Linked DNA regions of Homo sapiens: regions 2, 3 and 4 are each linked to region 1. The links are contacts of gene promoters, found by promoter capture Hi-C in blood cells and fetal thymus (Javierre and others, 2016). All regions are on one chromosome and are shown on one strand. Each heading gives the region's core, a stretch centred on a gene start or on the middle of the fragment in contact. The rest is flanking DNA. Distances are from core to core; before and after follow the strand shown.

What was found. The method cuts DNA at HindIII sites, captures the fragments that hold promoters and counts their contacts. A CHiCAGO score of 5 or more calls a contact.
Region 2: a fragment that was not itself captured here is called in contact with the fragment with the promoter of AGPAT5 in region 1 in 1 of 17 cell types (M2 macrophages); the score reaches 5.9 in M2 macrophages.
Region 3: a contact is called between a fragment that was not itself captured here and the fragment with the promoter of AGPAT5 in region 1, in 1 of 17 cell types (total CD4 T cells). The highest score is 5.8, in total CD4 T cells.
Region 4: a fragment that was not itself captured here is called in contact with the fragment with the promoter of AGPAT5 in region 1 in 2 of 17 cell types (non-activated CD4 T cells and total CD4 T cells); the score reaches 9.4 in non-activated CD4 T cells.

The regions. Positions count from the first base shown.
Region 1 is chr8:6,707,129-6,710,392 of GRCh38, reverse strand. AGPAT5 (1-acylglycerol-3-phosphate O-acyltransferase 5) reads right to left here and starts at 1,751. Exons shown (of 8, transcript NM_018361.5): 1 at 1,506-1,751. The coding sequence starts at 1,724. MCPH1-AS1 (MCPH1 antisense RNA 1) reads left to right here and starts at 2,184. Exons shown (of 5, transcript NR_125386.1): 1 at 2,184-2,252. RefSeq lists silencers at 1,358-1,597, 1,658-1,997. The HindIII fragment of the contact is 5,238 bases long and covers 1-3,264 here.
Region 2 is chr8:11,301,883-11,305,146 of GRCh38, reverse strand. It overlaps MTMR9 (myotubularin related protein 9), which reads right to left. Exons shown (of 10, transcript NM_015458.4): 4 at 133-306. Among named protein-coding and RNA genes, the nearest start is that of MTMR9, 19 kb to the right of the region's middle. The HindIII fragment of the contact is 1,228 bases long and covers 954-2,181 here.
Region 3 is chr8:11,279,958-11,283,221 of GRCh38, reverse strand. It overlaps LINC00529 (long intergenic non-protein coding RNA 529), which reads left to right. Exons shown (of 5, transcript NR_170283.1): 2 at 1,801-1,933. Among named protein-coding and RNA genes, the nearest start is that of LINC00529, 2.4 kb to the left of the region's middle. RefSeq lists a silencer at 2,220-2,269. The HindIII fragment of the contact is 382 bases long and covers 1,432-1,813 here.
Region 4 is chr8:11,203,478-11,206,741 of GRCh38, reverse strand. No RefSeq gene overlaps it. Among named protein-coding and RNA genes, the nearest start is that of XKR6, 3.3 kb to the right of the region's middle. The HindIII fragment of the contact is 527 bases long and covers 1,514-2,040 here.

The sequences.
Region 1 (3,264 bases), core at 502-3,001:
CCACTTCCTTTGATTTGAACAGACGGTGGGGGGAATGATTAGATTAAATGTTTTCAAAATCACTTGCTGGGAAATCAAGAAGTAAATCGGATCTCTGAACATCAGGTAAGGTATGCAATTTCAGAAACACTGCTAGGTTTTACAGCCATTTAAAAAAATAAGAACTTGCCAAACCAAAAAATCCTTCAATGGTGTATTCTGCATCATATTGTGTCCTCTTTGAACAAAAATAACATAACCCGCCACAGATAGAATTATTTTTTTAAGAGGTGAATGACTTTGTGTTCTGAGCTTATATCCCATCCCAGGCCAGTTGTCACATGATGTGGAAGTAAAAACTTAATCATGATAAAAATCATACATTTAGACAAACTTGGTGGAGTTACCATATAAAGGGAAAAAATTAGCCTGAATTATTGAAATTTTTAAATGAGGCCCATTTTAAACGTCAACTACCAGGAAACCATGACCTGGAACAGTATCTTTTTTTCTTTCCAAGGAGACACTTACAGACACTGGTTTAAATGGAGGCCCTGGCCTCTCCTAGTTCCTTCCCCCCAAACAACTTCCAACTGGGGCCATCAAGGGTCGATCAGCAGTGCAACTGCAAACTAAATATAGTACCTGACTGACCACAGGGTAAAAACAGCTGCTGTAGGTGGAAAAAAAAAAAGTTAAAAAGACAAAATGATACCGTCCCATTTCCCCATGCCACCCTAACCCTACCAAGAAAAGTAAAAGAGGACTAGGTGGACATTAGGAATAACCAAGAATAAAGCTGTTCTTTCAAACTGAGAAATAAAAGAAAAATTCACCTTTTTTTTTTTTTTATAACACTTCAAATACCTACTGTTAAAGAGGGCCTTCCACTTTTATGGTTTGTTTCTCAAGTTTAATCTACGAATCCAATCTCTACAGAGAAACAGTAACAGAAAGAAAGTAATCAGACAACAGATCACCCACACATTCAAGCCCAGTTAAAGTTGGCAAGAAATGTATCTAGTTAGGCTTCTACGGTTAACAAATGTATTCATTTCTTCGCCCAGCTTTCACTTGTCCAGGGGAAAGAACACAAGACCGAATTGTACTTCTGTTTCAAGAGGTCACTGTAAAAGCGCACTTCGGAGTGTAGACGTCTCCGATCTGTTCCAACATGACCACCTCTTTGGACCAAAGGCCAGAAACTGCTAAACGCGTGCCCTATTATTTAAAACGTGCATCTGCACCCACTTTGCTAAGCAGCATCAGACCCAGGCGAGGGGCGGGGAAAGGGGCGGCGGGTCCCACTCGTAGCCTCAGGACGACGCAGCCACAGCTTCCTAGAGAGCGATCTCGGCAGAACGGCAGGAAGCATGCGGAGAGGAAGGCGGGGAGGCGGCACGTGCTCTCCGTGCTGGGTCCGCCGGGCCGGCCGGGTGACCCTCGCCAGCTGTGGGGGAGCGGAGAGGTCCGCGCCCCCGGGAGCTCGGGTGGACGCCGAGACCCGGGAGCGGGAGGCGGCTCACCTGGACCCCGGTGTAATTCTCGAAGAAGAAGAGCACCATGCTCTGGTAGACGCAGTAGAGCCGGTCGTCCAGCGCTTGGTAGAAGCGGGCGGGCAGGAAGGCGGAGAGCAGCCGCCAGACCCCCCAGGCCAACACGTAGGTGGGCGCCGTGCCCAGGAGCACGACGCTGGGCAGCAGGTAGCGCATGGAGTACGTGTGGAGCACCAGGGACAGCAGCATCTTCTCAGCTCGGCGGCAGCGAGCTCCGCCTGCGCTCCCCGCCCGCCTCCCGGGCCTCAGTCGCGGCCAGCAGGCGGCCAATCACCGCCCGGGCCCGGGCCGCCGCGCCCGCCACCCGCTCCCAGCCTCCGCCCCCAGCCGCATGGGCCGCGCCGCCGCCCGGGGCCGGGTAGGCGAGTGCGGGGCTGCGTGCGCCGCTCCCGGCGGCAAAGCAAGGGAACCCGCGGCCCTCCCGGATCGATGGCTCAGGGATGCTCACACCCCATGACCCTCACCCATCGCCACATCCCCCTGCCGGGGCAGGGGGCTCCGCGGCAACAACGCGCCTTCTGATTGGTCGCCCGTTGCCATAGTTCCACCTCGGCGGCAATAACACGTCTCTTGATTGGTTGGTTTGGGCCGACAGTTGCAGTACAGCTACCTGCTGGGGCGCGGGCAACCCGGCTCCGGCCACTGCGCATGCTCCCCAGCTGGGCCGGCTGCGGACGCGGGAAGGGAGGTGGTGGCGACTGACGGAACTGGGTGAAGGTGGGTGCTGGCCGGAGGAGGGTCCGGGTGCCTCTTGTTCTGCTCCCTCGGGCCGGACGTGCGCGCGGTCAGGTTTAAGGGTCGCTGGAGCTGCCTGGAACGCGCACCTGCTGCTCACAAGCCCCTGGGCGCCGGGATGCACACAATTAGAGCAGTGAGAAAGTGGGTGTTAACGTTATCGGAGGTCTAATTCTTGCAGGCACCTGGGCCCAGGTTGTAGGCAGCTCGGCCCAGGTCGCGGGGCAGCTCGAGTGTCCCCATCTGCTCACTGCCAGTCCTTTGCAAGGGGACGCCGCCTCCTCAGCCTCCGCTCTGAGTGCGCAGCAGCCCCTCCTGCCCGTCTCTCGCTACCAGGGTGTTTCAGAATTAGGGTCCGTGTTTTTCCCCATCACAGTAATGATGATAATTACATGTTTATGCATAGCTGAAGAACAATCCCACAAGGATATTTCCATACTGTTTATTAGACCTTTTCAGAATTCACTCTTGCTTCATTTCCTCAGAGTCTGTTGGACTTGTTTCTGATTTTTTTTTAATAAGGAGCCTCGTTTTTTTCTGTAGTAATTAAAGTAGTTGCGTGCACATGTGTAATCCATAAAAAGCATACTTTTGTAGCCTTCACTAAAAGCTACGAAGGGTGGATAACTGTTTTATTGATGTTAAAGCAGATCCACAGGACTTTTGGATCTTTCTCCTCCCCTTTGGCTGTGGTAAAAATGGTTTAATATGTAACCCTTTTCAAGGATAGTTGTACTTTAAAAGAATGCCGAATGCTTTACCATATATATATATATATATATATATATATATATATATATATTCCCGCCCCCTCCCCACCACCACCATAATGGGAGCCTGTGCTACCTTTAGGCAGGACGGTATTTCAGTGGGAAGTTCTAATCAGGGCCAGGATGGTAGCTACTTTCTTTATACATGATTAACATCAAATAACAACATCATTGGTAGATGATGACCTTTGGGGACAAAGCCAGGTGAATGGAGATCTCTCAAG
Region 2 (3,264 bases), core at 318-2,817, 4.6 Mb before region 1:
GAAGGAAGCCCTTGTGGTGGAGACCTGGACAATCATTTCAGTGAACAGACAGAGAGCAAAAGGGAACATTTCTACGAAAAGATCCCCAACCCAAGCCTTTCAGTACATCAAGCAGTAGTGCTGTGCACTTACCATCCCATTTTTTTTGTGGTAATAGCTTAGTACTGGGAAGCGCCCTCCATGTCGAAATGTAGCTACCTTCCGAAGAGCTTCATCATCGATGGATTTGGGCACTGTGACAATTGGTGGGTAAGAGGGACAGACAGCAAATTCCTTATTGACATAGCTTAGCCTCCATTCACTGGTCTGAAAAACACAAAATACTTCAAAGCTAAGCAACTATCTCAATGTCGCAAAATAATCTGAGAAATTTTAAAAGACCTTAGAGGTCAACTTTCACTGATGAAGAAGCCATTTCTCAGGAATTTCACAGGTGGATCTCTAGCTTATATGTAAGTAGCTGCAGAGAAAAGGAGCTCTATGGTTCAGGGCCAGCTTCCTGCATTGCTAGGTATCACCAGTTCCCAGAAAGTGCTTTCTCACACTGAGCAAAACTTGTTGCTCTGTAGCTCCCTCTATTGGTTTTTACTGTACTTTCAGACAACACCGTACAAGTTCCCTATTTTACACGGTATCCCATCAAATGTTTGAAAGACAGCTGATCCTCCTTAGTGTTCTATTCTCCAAGTTAAATATATTAAGCACATCCACAATTATCACGGCCAACATCATCCTACTTCTTCCTTTTCTGGGTCCCATTTAGTTTGTTAATGATCCTCTTAAAGCACAAGTAAGACTGTACGACTCCAGATAATGCATCCCCAGAACAAATGAGAACACAGCTACTATCTATATCAAACCCTTTGTTTATTTTAAAAAAGGTAAAAAATGTACTAAGATTGGTAACACCTTTCTTAAAACAGTACCAACTCAATACTAAGGAAGGTTAAGCTTAGGAGTCAATGAAATAATTTCAAACTGAGTAAGGACTAGAAGTATACAATATAAAACTATCAAATGACAACTTATTTTAAACATCAGAATTAAAAACAGCTTGAACACTGTCAAAAGGTTTTACAGTAAAAAAAAAAAATCAAATTATATGTAAATTTCAATATGTTCTGTATATCTGAGTTGGCCTAACCATGGGTTACAATAGCAGGAAGATAAAGCTAAAAAGTATGTTAGACGTACTAACAGACAAGATTATTACTTTTAAAAAATGCTTTTATAAGATACAGTATCACATTTTTAATTAAATTTTTTCACTTTTCAAAGTTATTTATGTTACCAGTTTAAAAACATAGTTTCTAGGCTGGGCACAGTGGTTCACACCTATCATCCCGGCACTTTGGGAGGCCAAGGCAGGCAAATTGCTTGAGTTCAGGAGTTCAAGACCAGCCAGGGCAACATGGCCAAACCCCATATCCACTAAAAATGCAAAAATTAGCCAGGCACAGTGGCACACACTTGTATTTCCAGCTACTTAGGATGCTGAGGTGAAAGAATCACGGGAGCCCAGGAAGTCGAGGCCACAGTGAGCTGTGACAGCGCCACTGCACTCCAGCCTGGGCAACTGGAGTGAGATTGTTTCAAAAAATAATTAATTAATTAATTTAAAAAAAACACAGTTTCTAAAGATTTATTATTTTTAAAAAAATGTAGTTATCTGTTCCTTGCTAGCCCATCCCAATTTGCTTTCCCCAAAGGCAATCATTTTCAACATTTTTAGCTTTTTCAGTGTTTACCTTTACATTTCTAAACAACATGATAATACTGTTATTTCTTGAACTTTCACTATGATATATTATTATTGATTTCCTACTCTGGAGAATGACAGGGCTCTCCATTGATCTGCAATGCCGCTTCTGTTGGTCCAAATGTACTGTGCTCTCCATCCCGTCGCACTTGTCCACTTTAGTAACTCCTATAGCTTTTAAAATAAGTTTGGTATCTAGTAGGCCAAGTGTCCTCCTCTCACCTTTTTGTTCTTCAAAGAGTAACGTGGCTCCTCTTGGTCTTTTGGTCTTCCATGCAACTTTTATCAAATTCAATATAAAAACCAACTGGGGTTTTTATTAAGATTGTATTGACTTTATAAATCGGAGGGAATGACTTACATCTTTAGAATATTCAGTCTCTCTATCCATGAGTATATTGTCTTTTCCATTTGTTTAAGCTTTCAAAATTTTTTCCATAAATTTTTATAATTCTCTCAATAAAGGTCTTACTATCTTTTCTTAGATATATTCCTAGAAACCCAATAATCTTTGTTGCATTTTAACTGCATCTCTTCAAAATTGTGTTTGGTGTACAGAAATGCCTATGATCTCAAGATTCTTTCCTTTTCCTATGTAGACAAGCATATAATCAATAAATATTGACAATTTTGCTACCTTCATTTCAATCCCTATACCCTGTATTTTTCCTTCTTGTCTTATTGAGCTGACTAGAAGTAGTCACAATGGACATCCTTGCCTCATTCTTGAACTTAGAGAGAATGATACAAGATTTGCTTTTTTTATGTTTTTGGTTTTGGTACCCATCCTTTATCAGATTAAATAAATTTCCTTCAAATCCAACTCTAAGAGCTTTTATCATAAATAGATATTGATCAAACTTTTTTCCTCTGTTAATCTAACACCATGCAGGTCATTTGTCTTTTAACTTTGTGGTATTTTCTTTGCTTTATTGTTCAGTAGCTGAACAACAACATGTCTAAAGATTTTTTTATTATCTTGTATGGTATTTGCTGGGATACCTCAGCTTAAGGGTTCAATAACTTCTACTGATTCTGGAGAATTATCAACCATTATGCATTTGAATATTGTCTTTCTTCTATCATCACCTTTTTTTTTTTTTTGTCTTCCTCTTTTTTTTTTTTTTTTTTTTTGGAGACAGGGTCTTGCTCTCTCACCCAGGCTGGAGTGCAGCGGCATTATCACTGCTCACTGCAAACTCAACTTTCTGGGCTCAAGCCATTCTCCCACCTCAGACCCCCAGGTAACTGGGACCAAAGACACACATTATCACACCTAGCTAAATTTTTTCATAGAGATGGGGTTTCACCATGTTGCCTAGGCTGGTCTCAAACTCTCCTGAGCTCAAGTGACCTGCCTGCCTCAGCCTCCTTAAGTGCTAGGATTATAGGTGTGAGCCACCATAACCAGCCTCTATCATCTTTTATCCTAAACTCCCATGTAATAAATATTGGATCTTCTTCCTTTATTAAGCATGCATGTGTCTAACCTCTCTGTTTTTCCA
Region 3 (3,264 bases), core at 373-2,872, 4.6 Mb before region 1:
TACACCCAGTATACACAGGGACACCGCATACAGGGAATCAGCTTTATTTTACAACAGAGCTTCACTTTACCCCTCTGGCAATTAATAGATTCTGGGTATTTATTAAGAACTTTAAATTTAATGCAAAGACTGTTAAATACCACCAGCTCAGCTCTGGCAAAGGACTGTTGGCTTTGTTTATCTCCTATCTTCATCCAGATACACTGCCATCCCTATCCCAGCCCGATCTTGGGTCCTTGAAAAAAATGACCTATCATTCCAACTACCAGGGAGGAACTCCCTTTGAATTAATGAATCTGGATGACTTATAAGACTTCAAAAGTATGGAAATGACAAAGGTTAAAATGACAGGATGAGCAGTAAACCCTCTCCAGTCCAATCAGAGCAACCTTTTTGAGGGTGCATTCCCACAGAAACCCATTAGGGGCCCAACATCAACATACACAGAGCTAAAATTCCAGATGCCACTTTGTATTGAAAGAAGCCAAAATTCTGTTCAGGTCGTGGGAACTTGAAGTCTTCAATGCAACCACACCCCAGAAATTAACCCTCACACAATCATGTAAGCTATGCAATTAACCAAACTGCATCGTTTAGAAAACCTGTATGCTTTTCATGGAAACCATCCCTAGTTAAGGGCACTTTAAAGGATGCACAGTCTAAGTACTGTGAAGGTGGGCCCACTAGCTGGGTTGACATTTTCGCTTGGCCACTTTAGTAGGAAACTTAACCACTTGGGAAAGTGAAAACAACAAGCTAACCCACATGTTCACCATGGAAAACAATTTTTGTCTTGAAAAACAAGGAACCTTTTCCCTGTGCAGCACCAGTTCCTACTGTGTTTACCAGCCAATTGGACTGGAACCTGTACACTTGGTTTTTAGCCTCCGAAATCAATATAGCTCCCGGCCGGGCGCAGTTTCTCACGCCTATAATCCCAGCACTTTGGGAGGCCGAGGCAGGCGGATCACCTGAGGTCAGGAGTTCGAGACCAGCCTGGCCAACATGCTGAAACCCTGTTTCTACTAAAAATACAAAAAATTAGCCGGGTATGGTGGCGCACACCTGTAATCCCAGCTACTCTGGAGACTGAGACAGGAGAATCACTTGAACCCTGGAGACAGAGGTTGCAGTGAGCCAAGACTGAGCCACTGTGCTCCAGCCTGGGTGACAGAGGGAGACTGTCTCAAAACAAACAAACTATATATATATGTGTATATATATATATATATTTAGAGAGAGAGAGGGAGAGCTCTCAACAACCAATCCCTCATTATACCTTTAACTGCAACCGCCAGACACAAATGAGCAATCCAACTCAAACGCCTTTTTGTTGGGCTAGGAATAACAGTGAGAGCAGGAACGGGAGTTACCGGGCTTGCAACTTCCCTATACTGTTACCAGCACTTTCCAAGGATTTTGTGGAAAGCTTGGATGACATTGCCCAAAGTATCGTCACAACACAAACTCAAACAGACTCCTTGGCAGCAGTTGCTTTACAAAATAGAAGGGGACTGGATCTCCTAACTGCTGGAAAAGGTGGCTTATGTCTTTTTCTAGAGGAAGAATGCTGTTTTTATGTCAACCAATTAGAATTAGTAAGGGATGCCACCCAGAAATTAGCTGACCAGGCTTCTAAGATACGACAACAGCTGTCCAAGTCGTGGTCCTCCTGTTCAAAAATGCTAATTAGGGGTTCATGAGTCCTTCCTCTGACTGGCTCGTTGTTAATTATACTTGCCTTGGTTTTTGGACCATATTTATTAAATACATTAACCAAATTAATTTCCTCTCGCCTAGAGACCATCAAGCTTCAGATGATCATGCAACAAGGTTTCCAGCCAGTTCAGGTGAAGACACCACTACTGGCCATCAAGAAGCTACCCTGTATCCACTAGACAGAGCAGAGTGAGAGTTCTGTGATCCCAAATAGGTAGGCACCGCACCCCAAGTCAGCATGAAGCAGTTACAGAAGAAAGACCATTGGTCCCTCTGCCTCCCATAAAGATTTATGGGGATCATGTCTCACAGCGGGAAAATGAGACAGGAGAATAGGGTCTAGAGGCAGGGAACCTAAGGCCAATTCTCACTGACTTCCTAGAACTGAATCAGAGGGGAAACCCCACCTCTTCACACGAATGTAACGAAAGGATCAGAGGCTACTCCCTTTGCACTGCACTGCAAATGAAAAATGGAAAGTACCTCTGATTGGTCCCCTCCCACAACCATTCAGACTGGTTGCAGGCCAAGTCTTCATGTGTAACTTTGTAACTACCGTCACTTCAGACTCTGATTGGTCACCTCCCATGATCAGTCAGACTTGTGACGGGCCACTCCTTCATTTACATAGGGTGTAACCAAGTAACCAATGGGAAACCTCTAGAGGCTATTTAAACCCCATGCTGCACGATGGCTCACACCTGTAATCCCACCACTTTGGGAGGCTGAGGAGGGTGGATCACAAGGTTAGGAGTTCCAGACTAGCCTGGCCAACCGACATGGTGAAACCCTATCTCTACTAAAATTACAAAAATTAGCCAGGTGTGGTGTGGGCCTGTAATCCCAGCTATTGGGGAGGCTGAAGCAGGAGAATTGCTTGAACCTGGGAGGTGTAGGTTGCAGTGAGCCAAGAATGTGCCACCGCACTCCAGCCTGGGTGACAGAACAAGACTCCGCCTCAAAAAAATAAAAAAATTAAGCCCCAGAAAATTCTGTAACCAGCGCTCTTGAGCCACTTGCTTGAGCCCGCTCCCGCTCTGTGGAGTGTACTTTTGTTTCAGTAAATCTATGCTTTTGTCGCTTCACTTTTTTGTTGCTTTGTTTGTGAATTTTGTCCAATTCTTTGTTCAAAATGCCAAGAACCTGGGTGATTTGTAGTCAGTACTCTCCACCAGTAACAATAATATTGTTGCACCTGAGAGTCCAGTCTAAAAACAAGAACCAACAGAGTAGGGAAGATGAGGGGGGATGATTTACAAAGTTATTTTTTTAAACTGGAGTTTTTGACTTTCTTCATTTATGTGGATAAGTTATAACAATTACCAATTGTGGAATGAAGAATTTAATTACAGAGTGAAGAATCAGGGAACGTTTTATGGAGAAGGTATCATTTGAAAACAGGACCTTGAAGGATGAGGGTCACACTCTGAATGGAATGTGGCCGACAGAGATGTCCAATTTAGTGATATCTCCTAGAGGTGGGGATGCATTTTTCAGTAATTCCATTACCTTTTTCTTTTAGTTTCTTTATGTGGGGGGAGGCAC
Region 4 (3,264 bases), core at 528-3,027, 4.5 Mb before region 1:
AGGAACAGAGGTCTACAGTGTTCTATTTCCCATCTCACACTCAATCTGGGGACATGTGCTCTATGCTCATTCTCGGAAGTGGCCTGTATGATTTGATTTGCTATTGCTTGATCTTCATTTTCTTTTTTTTTTTTTTTTTTTGAGACAAGGTTTCACTCTGTTGTCCAGGCTGGAGTGCAGTGGTGCAATCACAGCTCACTGAAGCCTCGACCTCCTGGGCTCAAGTGATCCTCCCACCTCAGCCCCCCAAGTAGCTGGGACTATGAGTGCATACCACCATGCCAGGCTAATTTTAATATTTGTTTTTTCAAAGACAGAGTCTTGCTATGTTGCCCAGGCTAGTTTCCAACTCCTGGTTTCAAGAGATCCTTCCGCCTTGGCCTCCCAAAGTGTTCGGATTACAGGCGTGAGCCACTGCACCTGGCGATCCTTATTTTCTTTTGGTTGGGCATGATTAGTTGACTCCACACACGGTAAGTGTACGTATGATAAAGTTACACTGTACTCTGCTCTTTGGGGAGTAAATACATGAAGCTTTTTATCCTTACTTAGACAATACAGTGGATAAAAATATAAAGAAGCTCAAGAAGGGTTTAAATCAATTCACAGATGTCGGAGTTATAACTAGTTTTTAAGAGACAAAAAACTTCACAAAATACTCCTCAGTGATGTTGCTGTTAGAGAATACAGATGTACCTACCCCCGCCGATTCTTACCGATCTCTGTGACACTACATATGGGTGCATATTCCCTGCGACCTCCCCAAACTTCCCCCCAAACATTTATTATCTTTCTCCCATCCTTGTTCCTACTCACAGCATTTCTCTCCACCATTACCACCACCCTACAGGTAATCACTTTGTTTCTTAGGTCTCTTTCCAGAGTTGCTTTATGCAAATACAAACAAATAAGAAAAGATAACCTTATCTCTTCCCCTTTCTTACAGAAAATGCAGCATGTTCTATTGTTTTGCACTTTGAGTTTTGTGTAACAAAGCATCCTGCAACTCTTTGTATATCATTAAAAAGAAAACTATCATTTTTCAACATCACTGCACCATATTCTGTTGTGTGGATGTACCATAATTTATTTAACTAGTTCCCCTTTGGGTGGACATGTGGGTTTTTTCCTTCCATTCTTTCTCTCAATTGTAAGCAATGCTACATGAATAAACTTGTACACACATACTTTCTGACATCTATGTATTTATCTGTAAGATAAAGTCCCATAAAAGGGATGGCTGTCTCAAAGGGTACCTGCATTTGAAATTTTGGTAAGTAGTGCCAAATTCCCTTTCATAAAGATTTTACCATTTTGTACCACCAGCAACAAAGTATGAGAGTGCTTGCTAACACTTCAATTCTTAACATCGAATACAGAAATGTAGCTTCCAGGGATAATGGGTTCTATGAGCTTACTCCTCAGCACTCAAAGAAGTCCTGTTTCTATAGAAGTCAATAAGATACAAGGCACAGAATTGATGAGGATGACATCCACCTACTCTTTTGAAGCTTTATGTAGGCTCAAACTAGGAAAATCTTACGAAAAATGTATAAGACAGCCTCTTTGTAATGCTTTTGCTGAGGCCTATCCCCATATTGGAATTGAGGTGTTCTGTTTCCTAGCTGCATACCAGCATTGTAATAGGGTCCCTACTCTGACTAACACAGTAACACTAATTTCATTTGGAAGTGCCAGTAGCTGCCTGGCCCAGGACAATGGCAGGGTAAGTAGCAGGCTTTGGAATTACACCTGCCTGGATTCTAATCTATGGCTCCCCTTACCCATGTGACTCTGGGTAACTCATTTGGCAGACTCGAGTCTGTTTTCTAGACCATTAAAATGGGAATACTAATCCTCATGCGTTTTTGGACTGCCATATAATTAAAAGGAGTCACGTATGGGAGACTGTTTAGTACATAATAGCATTCAACACTAACTTTCCTTTGTGCCTTTCTGAAAATAGAGAATTGGGAAGAAAAACCCCAAAGGGCTTCTAAACATTTAAAATTTATGTCACAATTTCTGTATGTTAAAGCTTTTTAACTTTACTCATAGAAGAGGCTCTAAAAATCTATTTAGTATTATTTTACATGTAACTCCAACATGCTTTGTTATTTGGCTTCTCTGTCTATATTAAAGTGTAAATACAGGGGCCAAAGTTGTTAATTAACTGAATAAACAAAGAAAGCAGAGATTAAAAAATACTGTTAGAAAAAACCACCACTGCTACCACCACCACCACCAACCTCAACAACAGTTGGTGCTTAGCAGGCCGGCACAGGCACATAAATAGTTAGAGCCTCTTAGCATAAGGCCACTTCAAGGTCAAGTTGTCAAGAAAAGGTCAACTTTCTGCCTGATGTGCAGAGCACAAGCCAATGGGCAATGCATTTCTTTCACTTTCCCCCCACTTTAAAGTTTTGAGGTATCTCCGTAATGATTGAATTTTATGGAGGTTTACATCATAAAACGTAAAATACATTTTTTTTGGCACTTAAAGGTGAAATTTCAGTTATCTGGAAAATTAATTTGCACTAATTTAATCAATACTTATAGAGTGCCCACTATGTGTTCAGCATTGTGCTAAGTGCTGGCTTACTTGGAACAAAAATCACCCCCAAAATTCTAGGTAAAAGTGTGCCATCCAAAGCACAGTCCAGATTTATGTTAACTTTTCAGTGAGTCTTCATGAGAGGTTTATTATCATTGTAACTGATTTTAGAGCCTTCTGGGTTCCATAATGTATCCTTCTTCCAAAGAAAGTAGAAGGACAAAATTGTTGAAACAGCAAATGTAAAGTTGAAGTCACTTGACAGTCTGAGAATCTTACATATCTACTTGAAACTTCAATTGTAATAAACACTTTTGACTCATAAGCTCATTTGTCAGCCTTATATAGCGAGTGTAATTTACTTAGCTAATTTCACTAGTTTATGTTCTTTCAGGGCACACAGAAATAGGAATCATAAATACACCATTACTGCCCGCTTTTGTATCTCATTTCACAGCCTCGTAGCTTAAATAGAGAAAATATATTTGAAAGCACAAATTAATTGCACCTATTTTCTAGAAGTATTTCAAAATGCTTTCTTTTATTAGAGATACCAAATACACTCAGCGATAGAATTTAAGTAGAAACATGTCAGTATTATGCAAACATAATAATAACAACAGTAATAATAATAGCAGTTACTCTCTAGTGCTTAGCTGCCTATCAGGTATCATATTGAGATCCTTGAAAGGATTACCACCTTTACTCTG